Regions from separate parts of the Homo sapiens genome. Here regions 1 and 3 are each linked to region 2. Evidence: promoter capture Hi-C in human tissues and cell types (Jung and others, 2019). All regions are on one chromosome and are shown on one strand. Each heading gives the region's core, a stretch centred on a gene start or on the middle of the fragment in contact. The rest is flanking DNA. Distances are from core to core; before and after follow the strand shown. Region 1 overlaps CC2D1A (coiled-coil and C2 domain containing 1A). Region 2 holds the start of PALM3 (paralemmin 3). Region 3 has its middle 60 kb from the start of LINC01842.

Region 1 (3,150 bases), core at 354-2,853, 150 kb before region 2:
GTGAACCAAAGGTCTGACTGAACCCTTGCTGTTCCCCTAGCTGGGCCTGCTGGTTGACCTCTCCCCAGATGGCCTGATGATCCCTGAGGACGGGGCTAACGATGAAGAACTGGAGGCTGAGTTCTTGGCTTTGGTCGGGGGCCAGCCCCCAGCCCTGGAGAAGCTCAAAGGCAAAGGTGAGATGGTTAACACACCCTCAGAACATTTTCTGATCTCCTGCAAGTGGTTCGGGCGCAGAACTGGGGGCACTGGGTAGGTAGGGGAAAGAAGACAGAGAAGACCCCTGTTCTCCTGGAGCCAATGATCTGGGTAAGAGAGTCAAGATCGACTCTGAGGCCGGGCACGGTGGCTCACGCCTGTAATCCCAGCACTTTGGGAGGCCGAGGCAGGCAGATCATGAGGTCAGGAGATTGAGACCATCCCGGCTAACACGGTGAAACTCTGTCTCTACTAAAAATACAAAAAAAAAAAAAAAATTAGCCGGGCGTGGTGGCGGGCGCCTGTAGTCCCAGCTACTCAGGAGGCTGAGGCAGAAGAATGGCGTGAACCAGGGAGGCGGAGCTTGCAGTGAGCCGAGATCGCACCACTGCGCTACAGCCTGGGCGACAGAGCAAGACTCCGTCTCAAAAAAAAAAAAAAAAAAAAAAAGATCAAGTCTGGACCGAGACTGAGAGTTGGAATCCGAGCTCTGCCACTTACTGGTTATGTGACTTGATGAGTCACATCATGTGCTTTGGCCTCAGTTTCACCATCTGTAAAACTGGAATAATAACCATGTTATAGGAGTTAATCTGGAGTCCATAAGTATTTCACCCAGGGCCCCCTCACACACAATAAGCTCATGTCAGCCAGGCACATTGGCTCATGCATGTAATCCCAGCACTCTGGGAGGCCAAGGTGGACAGATCACTTGGGGCCAGGAGTTCGAGACCAGCCTGGCCAACATGGTGAAACCCTGTCTTTACTAAAAATACAAAAATTAGCCAAGCTTGGTGGCGAACACCTGTAATCCCAGCTACTTGGGAGGCTGAGGCATGAGAATCGCTTGAATCCAGGAGGCAGCAGTTGCAGTGGGCAGAGATTGCGCCACTGCACTCCAGCCTGGGTGACAGAGCAAGATCCTGTTTCCAAAAAACAAAAAAGAGAGAAGCTTCATTCAGGCATGAACTACTGTGCTGTTGGCTGTGAATTCAAAGTTAATGAATGAACGATATCTATTCAGGAAGGTGTCTTCAAACAGAAACACACATAGAGCAAGGTTGTGTATTGATCAGTTGATTAAAATTTTGTGACCAGAGCTGGGTGTGGTGGTGCATGCCTGTAATCCCAGCTACTCGGGAGGCTGAGGCAGGAAGATCACTTGAGGCCAAGAGTTTGAGGCTGCAGTGAGCTCTGATTGGGCCACTGCACTCCAGCCTGGGTGACAGAGCAAGATCCTGTCTCCAAAAAAGGTTATGACTGGAGATTCACAGGAACCTAAGCTTAAATTTCCCCTAGGAGCAACAGTCTTATAGTCATTAATTTAGTCTTCAAAGCAGCTTTATAGAATGTAACATAACTAATAACAAGATATTGGCAATATGCTATTCTAAGAGCTTCATTGACCTTCTCTGCTCCAACCTACCTATGAAGGAGGAACTGTTGTCATCCCCGTGTCACAGAGGGAGAAACTGAGGCTCAGAGAGGTGACATCACTTGCCGAAGTTCTCACAGAGAGAAAGTTGCAGAGCTGGGGTTTTTTTTGTTGTTGTTGTGTGTGTGTGTTTTTTTTTTTTTTTTTGGAGACAAACCCTTGCTCTGTTGCCCAGGCTGCAGTGCAGTGGCGCAATCTCAGCTCACTGCGACCTCTGCCTCCTGGGCTTAAGTGATTCTCCTGCCTCAGCCTCTTTAGCAGCGGGGATTACACGCCACCATGCCCAGCTAATTTTTTTTTTTTTTTTTTTTTTTTTTTGAGACGGAGTCTCGCTCTGTCGCCCAGGCTGGAGTACAGTGGCGCGATCTTGGCTCACCGCAAGCTCCGCCTCCTAGGTTCACGCCATTCCCCTGCCTCAGGCTCCCGAGTAGCTGGGACCACAGGCGCCCGCCAGCATGCCTGGCTAATTTTTTGTATTTGTAGTAGAGACGGGGTTTCACCGTGTTAGCCAGGATGGTCTCGATCTCCTGACCTTGTGATCCACCCGCCTCGGCCTCCCAAAGTGCTGGGGTTACAGGCGTGAGCCACTGCGCCCAGCCTAATTTTTGTATTTTTAGTAGAGACAGGGTTTCACCATGTTGGCCAGGCTGGTCTTGAACGCCTGACTTCAAGTGATCCTTCTGCCTCGGCCTCCCAAAGTGCTGGGATTATAGGCGTGAGTCACTGTGCCCGGTCTGCAGAGCTGGGTTTTGAATTCAGGTAGCCAGGCCCCAGACCTGAGGCTGAATAAGGAAGAGATGAAATGGGGAAGTCAGCGAGAAGTGGGATCACCTAGCGTGTCCAGGATGGGAAATGGGGGCTCTTGGTGTACGACCCTGGTCCACCTGGGGCATCCCCCTACCGCCAGGTCCCTTGCCGATGGAGGCCATTGAGAAGATGGCCAGCCTGTGCATGAGAGACCCGGATGAGGATGAGGAGGAGGGGACGGATGAGGACGACTTGGAGGCTGATGATGACCTGCTGGTGAGCACTGAGGGCGGGGTGGGGGCTCTGATCCGGTTGCCCCCATCCAGCAGGCCCTTATATCCTGCCCTGGCTGTGTGTCCCTGCAGGCGGAGCTAAATGAGGTCCTTGGAGAGGAGCAGAAGGCTTCAGAGACCCCACCTCCTGTGGCCCAGGTACAGTTTGGATGACTCCACTCCCTTGAACCACAACCCAACGGACAGCCCGGGGTTCAAGACCTAGCCTTTTTTATGAGATGGAGTCTTGCTGTGTCACCCAGGCTGGAGTGCAGTGGTGCCATCTCAGCTCACTACAACCTCTGCCTCCCAGGTTCAAGGGATCCTCCCACCTCAGCCTCCCCAGTAGCTGGGATTACAGGTGTGTGCCACCACGCCTGGCTAATTTTTGTATTTTTTGGTAGAGATGGTGTTTCTCTGTGTTGGCCAGGCTGGTCCTGACCTCAAGTGATCCACCTGCCTTGGCCTCCCAAAGTGTTGGGATTACAGGCGTGAGCC
Region 2 (3,295 bases), core at 778-3,277:
GACATGCATTGGGCACCCCTGACTATGTTGCTATGTTGACCACGTGTCACAGGCCAGTATCTAGAAAGCGATGTCTCTCTGCCTGTCATCTCCACCGGCATGGACGGGCGCTGATCAAACCCTCAAACATTTATTAATTTGAACAGTCACCCTACTGGGTAAGCCTCATTGCCTGAACTCCAGCTAGGACCTTCCAGATCTTCTGTGGCCACAACGTGAAGGCTATTAGCACTTATAGTGCTATATATATGATATATATATACTATATATAGCATATAGTGTTCTAAGTGCCCCACGGGGTTTCCGCTAGGTTCCCACAGCCACCTCTGCCTCCCCCTCCCTGCCTCTATCATGACACAGTGGAGTCAACTCTTTGCTGAGTTGACATTCCAGCTAAGAACAAAATCAGCCAACCATTAGCTAGCCCGTAACACGTGCCAGGTGCAATGTAATTCACTGAATCCTCCCAACGACTCTAGGAGGTAAGCTATATGAATGTGTCCATTTTATGGATGGGAAAACTGAGGTTCTGAGAAGTGGCAGCAGTGTCCAAGGTCATGGAGCCAAGATCAGAACTTGAAGCTATCAGATCCAAAATACTGAGAACACAGCTGGCGAGGGGGGTGGGGGTGCAGGTCTAGGAATCCCCATCAAGGTAGCTAAGAGAGCAGCCTGGAGACCCTGAATGCTGTTTGGGGCAAGGAATTGAAGTCATGCTCTTTCTTTTTTTGAGTCGGAGTCTCGCTCTGTCACCCAGGCTGGAGTGCAATGGCTCAATCTCAGCTCACTGCAACCCCCGCTTCCTGGGTTCAAGTGATTCTCCTGCCTCAGCCTCCTGAGTAGCTGAGATTACAGGCGTGCACCACCAAGCCCGGCTAATTTTTGTATTTTTAGTACAGATGGGGTTTCACCATACTGGCCAGGCTGGTCTCGAACTCCTGACCTCAGGTGATCTGCCCGCCTCGGCCTCCCAAAGTGCTGGGATTACAGGCGTGAGCCACCGTGCCCGGCCACGAAGTCATGCTTTGCAAGATATCCCAAAGGAAGCCCAGATTCTGTGCTTATAGGTTTGCCCCTGGGGGAGGGCTGAAGTCCCGTGGTCTCCTGTACCACCCCCAAGATGTAATCTCCCTGCCTCTTCCTTGCTGGGGGGGATCGGGTTCCCATTGCTAAGCAACCAGGTTTGTAGTTGGTGAATAATGCAATGGAGGACCTAGAAGGGTGAGGAACCGAATTGGGGTCCCTAGTGTGGGGGGAAGCCCCTTTTCCAAAACTCTTTCCAAACCTCTGAAGCCCCCTCTACCCTTTTAACCTTAAAAAACTCTCACCCCTCAGCTATGAAAAGACTTCACACACCCCATTCCATCTTGCTTATCTCTAACTAACTCTGGAAGAACAACGTAGGCGGCCTGGGCTTCTGGCCACCCGCAAGAGTTGGTGGCCATTTCATGAAGGAGGTCATCCTTGCAATGTTGCCATTGTCTTTCTCAGGCTGGGAGCTTTTAACTTCTGTTGGATCTCAAGCCTTTTCTCCCACCTTGGACACTGACTTTAGGGGCAAAACGTGGAACCCAGTGACCCTGACCTTCCCCACTCCCTGCACCACAGCAGTAGCCCCACCCCCTGGCTGGACTTTGGGTTCTCAGCCCTGGCAGCGGAAAATCCCCGAAGAGGAAGGGGCAGGGGGAGCCTATATCTCTCTCCCACCCCTTGACTCTTTAAGGAAGGGTGACACTGATGAGCCTATGGGGTTGGCTAGCCAACCCCTCCACTCCCCGGGTCCCCTTAGGAGAGACCACTGGAGCTCTCGGCTCCCAGACAAGGCCAGCATCCCCCATGAGCCCCTCCCAAGGCCCTGCCCACCAGCCCCCCTGACCCCCCAGACACTTACATGGGTGTGGCCAGAGACCACACCTGGCTCTGCAGGGCCATCTCTGCCCAGAAGTTCACTTTCTGGTCTCCGAGTTCTGGACCCACCACCCGCTTGCCTGAAGGTGCCCCGGAGGCTGTGACTTGGCTGCCTGGAGTGGGGGGGGGCTGCGGGCGGGCACCGGGAGAGCAGGTCCAGCGGGTTTGGGCCAGGGAGGCGGTAGGCACACCAGAGAGGGGGGCTGGGGGCTGGAGGGCAGTTCTGGGGAGGTACTATCAGCTGTCCTGATAAATTATTCACCAGCCTCTGGCCTCTTTGTTGCACTCAGCTGCCTCCCGGAAAACACTTTCACACACGCGTGGTCAAGCGTGGGGGTGAGAGTACTGAGTCGGTGACTCCCCCTGCCACCAGAGAATGGCATTTCTACTTGGCACCCCAATCATCTTGAGTCTGACTGCCTGCCAAGACTCACCCACAGGAGAGCACCATTGCATAGCACACAGGCTGGAGACTGTTTTATTTTTTTAGAGATGGGGGTCTCACTCTGTTGCCCAGGCTAAAATGTAGTAGTGCGATCATAGCTCACTGCAGTTTCAGACTCCGGGGCGCAAACAATCCTCCCTCCTCGGCTTCTCAAAGTGCTGGGATTACAGGCATGAGCCACCACATCTGGCAGATAACATTTTTTAAAATTATTTTTTAAGAACAGGCACAGTGGTGCATATGTGTAATCCTAGCACTTTGGGAGGCCCAGGTGGGTGGATCACCTGAGGGCGGAGTTCGAGACTGGTCTGACCAACATGGTGAAACCCCGTCTCTGCTAAATACAAAAAAAAACTTAGCCGGGCATGGTGGTGCATGCCTGTAACCTCCGCTACTTGGGAGGCTGAGGCAGAAGAATCACTTGAACCCAGGTGGCAGAGGTTGCAGTTAGCCAAGATCGCACCATTGCACTCCAGCCTGGGCAACAAGAGCAAAACTCTGTCTAAAAAAAAAAAAATTACTTTTTGAGCCAGGCACGGTGGCTCACGCCTGTAATCCCAGCACTTTGGGAGGCCGAGGTGGGCGGATCACGAGGTCAGGAGTTTGAGACCAGCCTGGCCAACATGGAGAAAGCCTGCCTCTGCTAAAGATACACATTAGCCAGGTGTGGTGGCACACCTGTAGTCCTAGCTACTCGGGAGGTTGAGGCAGGAGAATTGCTTGTACCCAGGAGGCGGAGATTGCAGGGAGCTGAGATCATGCCACTGCACTCCAGCCTGGGTGACGGAGCAAGACTCCGTCTGAAAAAAAAAAATTACTTTTTGATCGTGGTAAAATACACATAACAAAATTTACCATTAGTGGCATTTAGTATGTTCACAATATTATGCAATCCTCACCACTGGTTCAGAATATTTTCATCAACCCAAAAGGAAGTGATCA
Region 3 (3,281 bases), core at 132-2,631, 210 kb after region 2:
CTCAGCAGTGATGAGTTTATTAACCTCCAGCTCTGAAGGAATGTGGGGGCAGGGGAGAGGGAAGGAAAGAAGAGAGTTTTCCAGATTAGGAGATTGGACCCAGGGAGAGGGTGGGTTTGGAGCTGTGCTGTCTCCTAGCTGGGCTCTGAGCAAGAGACAGATGGGGGTGTGTGCGAAAGCATTAACATCTGTGTGTTTGCTGCCTCTGCAGTGGGGACTTGCAAATATCTACCCCCACCACCCTGACCTGCTACAGAACCAGGACTGCCCTCCCATAATCAAGTGTGTTTTATAGCCCTACTTCCCAAATTATTGGCAGGCAGCATGTCCTGAATCTGGAAATACAGCCTCTTTCAGTTCAACAATCTGGCCTTGTATGGGATCGTTTGTTACGTAGCATAACTTAGGTTATCTGACTATTACATATTGTATCTCCACTTCATAGCTGGTGAAACAGGCACATGCCACCATGCCCAGATAATTTTCTCCTCTGGGCAGGAGACAGATGGAGGCGTGTCCAAAAGCATTGACAACTATTGTGTTTGCCGCTTCTGTGGTGGTGACTTGGAAGTATCTGAACCCCCATCACCCTGACCTCAGTTTCACAACAGAGGCCCAGTTTGCATACAAACCTAGGTGAGGTCATGAAGGGTTCATAGCTTGCAGCCATAGAGGCTGGAAATCAATGCCTAGTACATCCCTGGCAGCTCAAGGAGTCAGCTCATTTCTGTTCATTAGAGATCACAGAATCATCACGTTCTCTCTCTCTTTTTTTTTGAGATGGAGCCTCGCTTTGTCACCTAGGCTAGAGTGCAGTGGCGCAATCTCGGTTCACTGCAACCTCCGCCTCCAGGATTCAAGCGATTCTCCTGCCTCAGCCTCCCGAGTAGCTGGGACTACAGGAATGTGCCACTACGCCCCGCTAATTTGTTTGTATTTCAGTAGAGACGGGGTTTGACCATTTTGGCCAGGCTAGTCTCAAACTCCTGACCTCAGGTGATATGCCCACCTCGGCCTCCCAAAATGCTAGGATTACAGGTGTGAGCCGCCATGCTTGGCTATTCTTTTTTTTTCTGAGATGAGATTTCACTGTCCTCCAGGCTGGAATGCAGTGGGGCAATCATAGCTCACTGCAGCCTCAAACTCTTGGGCTCAAGCCATCCTCGGCCTCCAGAGTAGCCGGGACCACAGGTGCACACCACCATGCCTGGCTAATATTTTTTTTTTTTTACTGCTTGTAGAGATGGGGGTCTCACTATGTTGCCCAGGCTGGTCTCAAAACTCCTGGGCTCAAGCAATCCTCCTGCCTCAGCCTCTCAAAGTGCTGGGATTACAGGCGTGAGCCGCAGCGCCCCGTCCTGCTCATTTCCTTTTATTACCAACAATTCTCCATTCTTTATTTTTAATATCCCCTTCATTCACCAGGGCTCAACTTTGTCATCCAACTTTTATTGCTTTGTGGGGAGGAACGCAACCAAAGAGACACTGGGAGGCAATGACCTCATGGAACAAGGAAGCTGTGTTGGACATCTGGAATGGAGTTGGATTTCCACCATGGCCCAAAACACTTCCAATTCCTCCTTCTAGCATGTTTCGAACCCTGTGGCCAACACTGCCATTTGTCACCTTTTTGAATGTGTTGGATTATCTGTTAGCCTATCTACATCTTGTTTTCCTGTGTATTTCAGGGGCTGGAATTCTGGCAACTACTCCTTGTCTAAGATTCTGTTGCCAGGAGGGTTACAGGGTGGATTCTATAAATGAGGAGCATCAGATCGTCGTGGTGGCTCACACCTGTAATCCCAGTACTTTGGGAGGCCAAGGCAGGCGGATCGCTTGAGCTCAGGAGTTCGAGACCAGCCTGGGCAACACGGTGAAAGCCCATCTCTACTAAAAATACAAAAAATTAGCAGGGTGTGGTGGCACATGCCTGTAATCCCAGCTACTTTGGAGGCTGAGGCGGGAGGATCACTTGAGCCTGGGAGGCAGAGGTTGCAAGTGAGCTGAGATCACACCATTGCACTCCAGCCTGGGTGACAAGAGTGACACTCCGTCTCAAAAAAAAAAAAAAAAAAAAAAGAGAGCGAGAACATGTGGCCTGCAAAGACAGAAATATTTAGATTCTGATCCTTGATGGAAAAAGTTTTCCATCCTCTGCTCTTGACTTCATTTGGTCATTCCCACAATGAATAAGTTAGTTCTAGGATCTTGGAGCAAACATGTCTGTATTAGTCTGTTTTCACACCGCTATAAAGAACTATGTGAGAGTGAGTAATTTATGAAGAAAAAAGGTTTAATTGACTCACAGTTCCGCATGGCTGATGGGGCCTCAGGAAACTTACAATCATGACAAAAAGTGAAGGGAAAGCAAGGCACATCGTACATGGAGGCAGGGGAGAGAGAGAGAGAGAGAGAGAGAGAGAGAGAGGAGAGAGAGAGAGAGAGAGAGAGAGAGAGAGAGAGAGAGAGAGAGAGAGAGAGAGAGAGAGGAAGTGCCAGACGCTTATCAAACAACCAGATCTGGTGAGAACTCATTGTCACGAGAATAGCAAGGGGGAAATGCTCCCGTGATCCAATCTCCTCCCACCAGGTCCCTCCCCTCGACACGTGGGGATTACAATTCTAGATGCGATTTGGGTGGAGACACAGTCAAACATGTCAGTGTTCTTTCTCTAAGGCTCCATTTTGTCCTCTGTAAAATGGGGTGAGAGGCCCCTACTTAACTGCACGAGCTTGCTCTGCAATTAAAATTGCATGTCATGGGCCAAGGGACTTTGAAAGTGGGACAGCTCCTGCAGGTGCTTTTGGCTGGAGTCACAGGATCCAAAACCCCCCAGTAATCCCCACATCTTTCCTTTCTTTTCTCTCTCTTTTCTTTTTTCTCTTTCTCTTTCTTTCTTTTCTTTCTCTCTTTCTTTTTCTCTTTCTTCCCCCTCTCTCCTTCCCTTCCCTTCCCTCCCTCCCTCCCTTCCTTTTCCTTTTTTCTGAGAAAGAGTCTCGCTCTTATCACCCAGGCTGGAGTGCAGTTTCGTGATCTTGGCTCACTGCAACGTCTGCCTCCTGGATTCAAGCTGTTCTCCTGCCTCAGCCTCCTGAGTAGCTGGGATTACAAGCGCCCACCACCACGCTCAGCTAATTTTTGTACTCTTAGTAGAGATAGGGTTTTGACATGTTGACCAGGCTGGTCTCGAACTCCTAACCTCAGGTGATCCGCCCACCTTGGCCTCCCAAAGTGCTGGGAATACAGGTGTAAGCTACTGCGCCCAGCCCTTTTCTTTCTT

The links. Contacts are between HindIII fragments. The study calls those that stand out against the background at their distance.
Region 1: a fragment that was not itself captured here is called in contact with the fragment with the promoter of PALM3 in region 2 in 9 of the 25 tissues and cell types used here (IMR-90 fibroblasts, aorta, bladder and 6 more).
Region 3: a contact is called between a fragment that was not itself captured here and the fragment with the promoter of PALM3 in region 2, in 1 of the 25 tissues and cell types used here (spleen).

The regions. Positions count from the first base shown.
Region 1 is chr19:13,909,783-13,912,932 of GRCh38, forward strand. It overlaps CC2D1A (coiled-coil and C2 domain containing 1A), which reads left to right. Exons shown (of 29, transcript NM_017721.5): 2 at 41-176; 3 at 2,541-2,656; 4 at 2,746-2,811. Among named protein-coding and RNA genes, the nearest start is that of CC2D1A, 5.2 kb to the left of the region's middle. The HindIII fragment of the contact is 5,078 bases long and covers 1-3,150 here.
Region 2 is chr19:14,060,049-14,063,343 of GRCh38, forward strand. PALM3 (paralemmin 3) reads right to left here and starts at 2,028. Exons shown (of 7, transcript NM_001145028.2): 1 at 1,892-2,028. The coding sequence starts at 1,932. RefSeq lists an enhancer at 1,969-2,523. The HindIII fragment of the contact is 26,422 bases long and covers 1-3,295 here.
Region 3 is chr19:14,272,438-14,275,718 of GRCh38, forward strand. No RefSeq gene overlaps it. Among named protein-coding and RNA genes, the nearest start is that of LINC01842, 60 kb to the right of the region's middle. The HindIII fragment of the contact is 5,931 bases long and covers 1-3,281 here.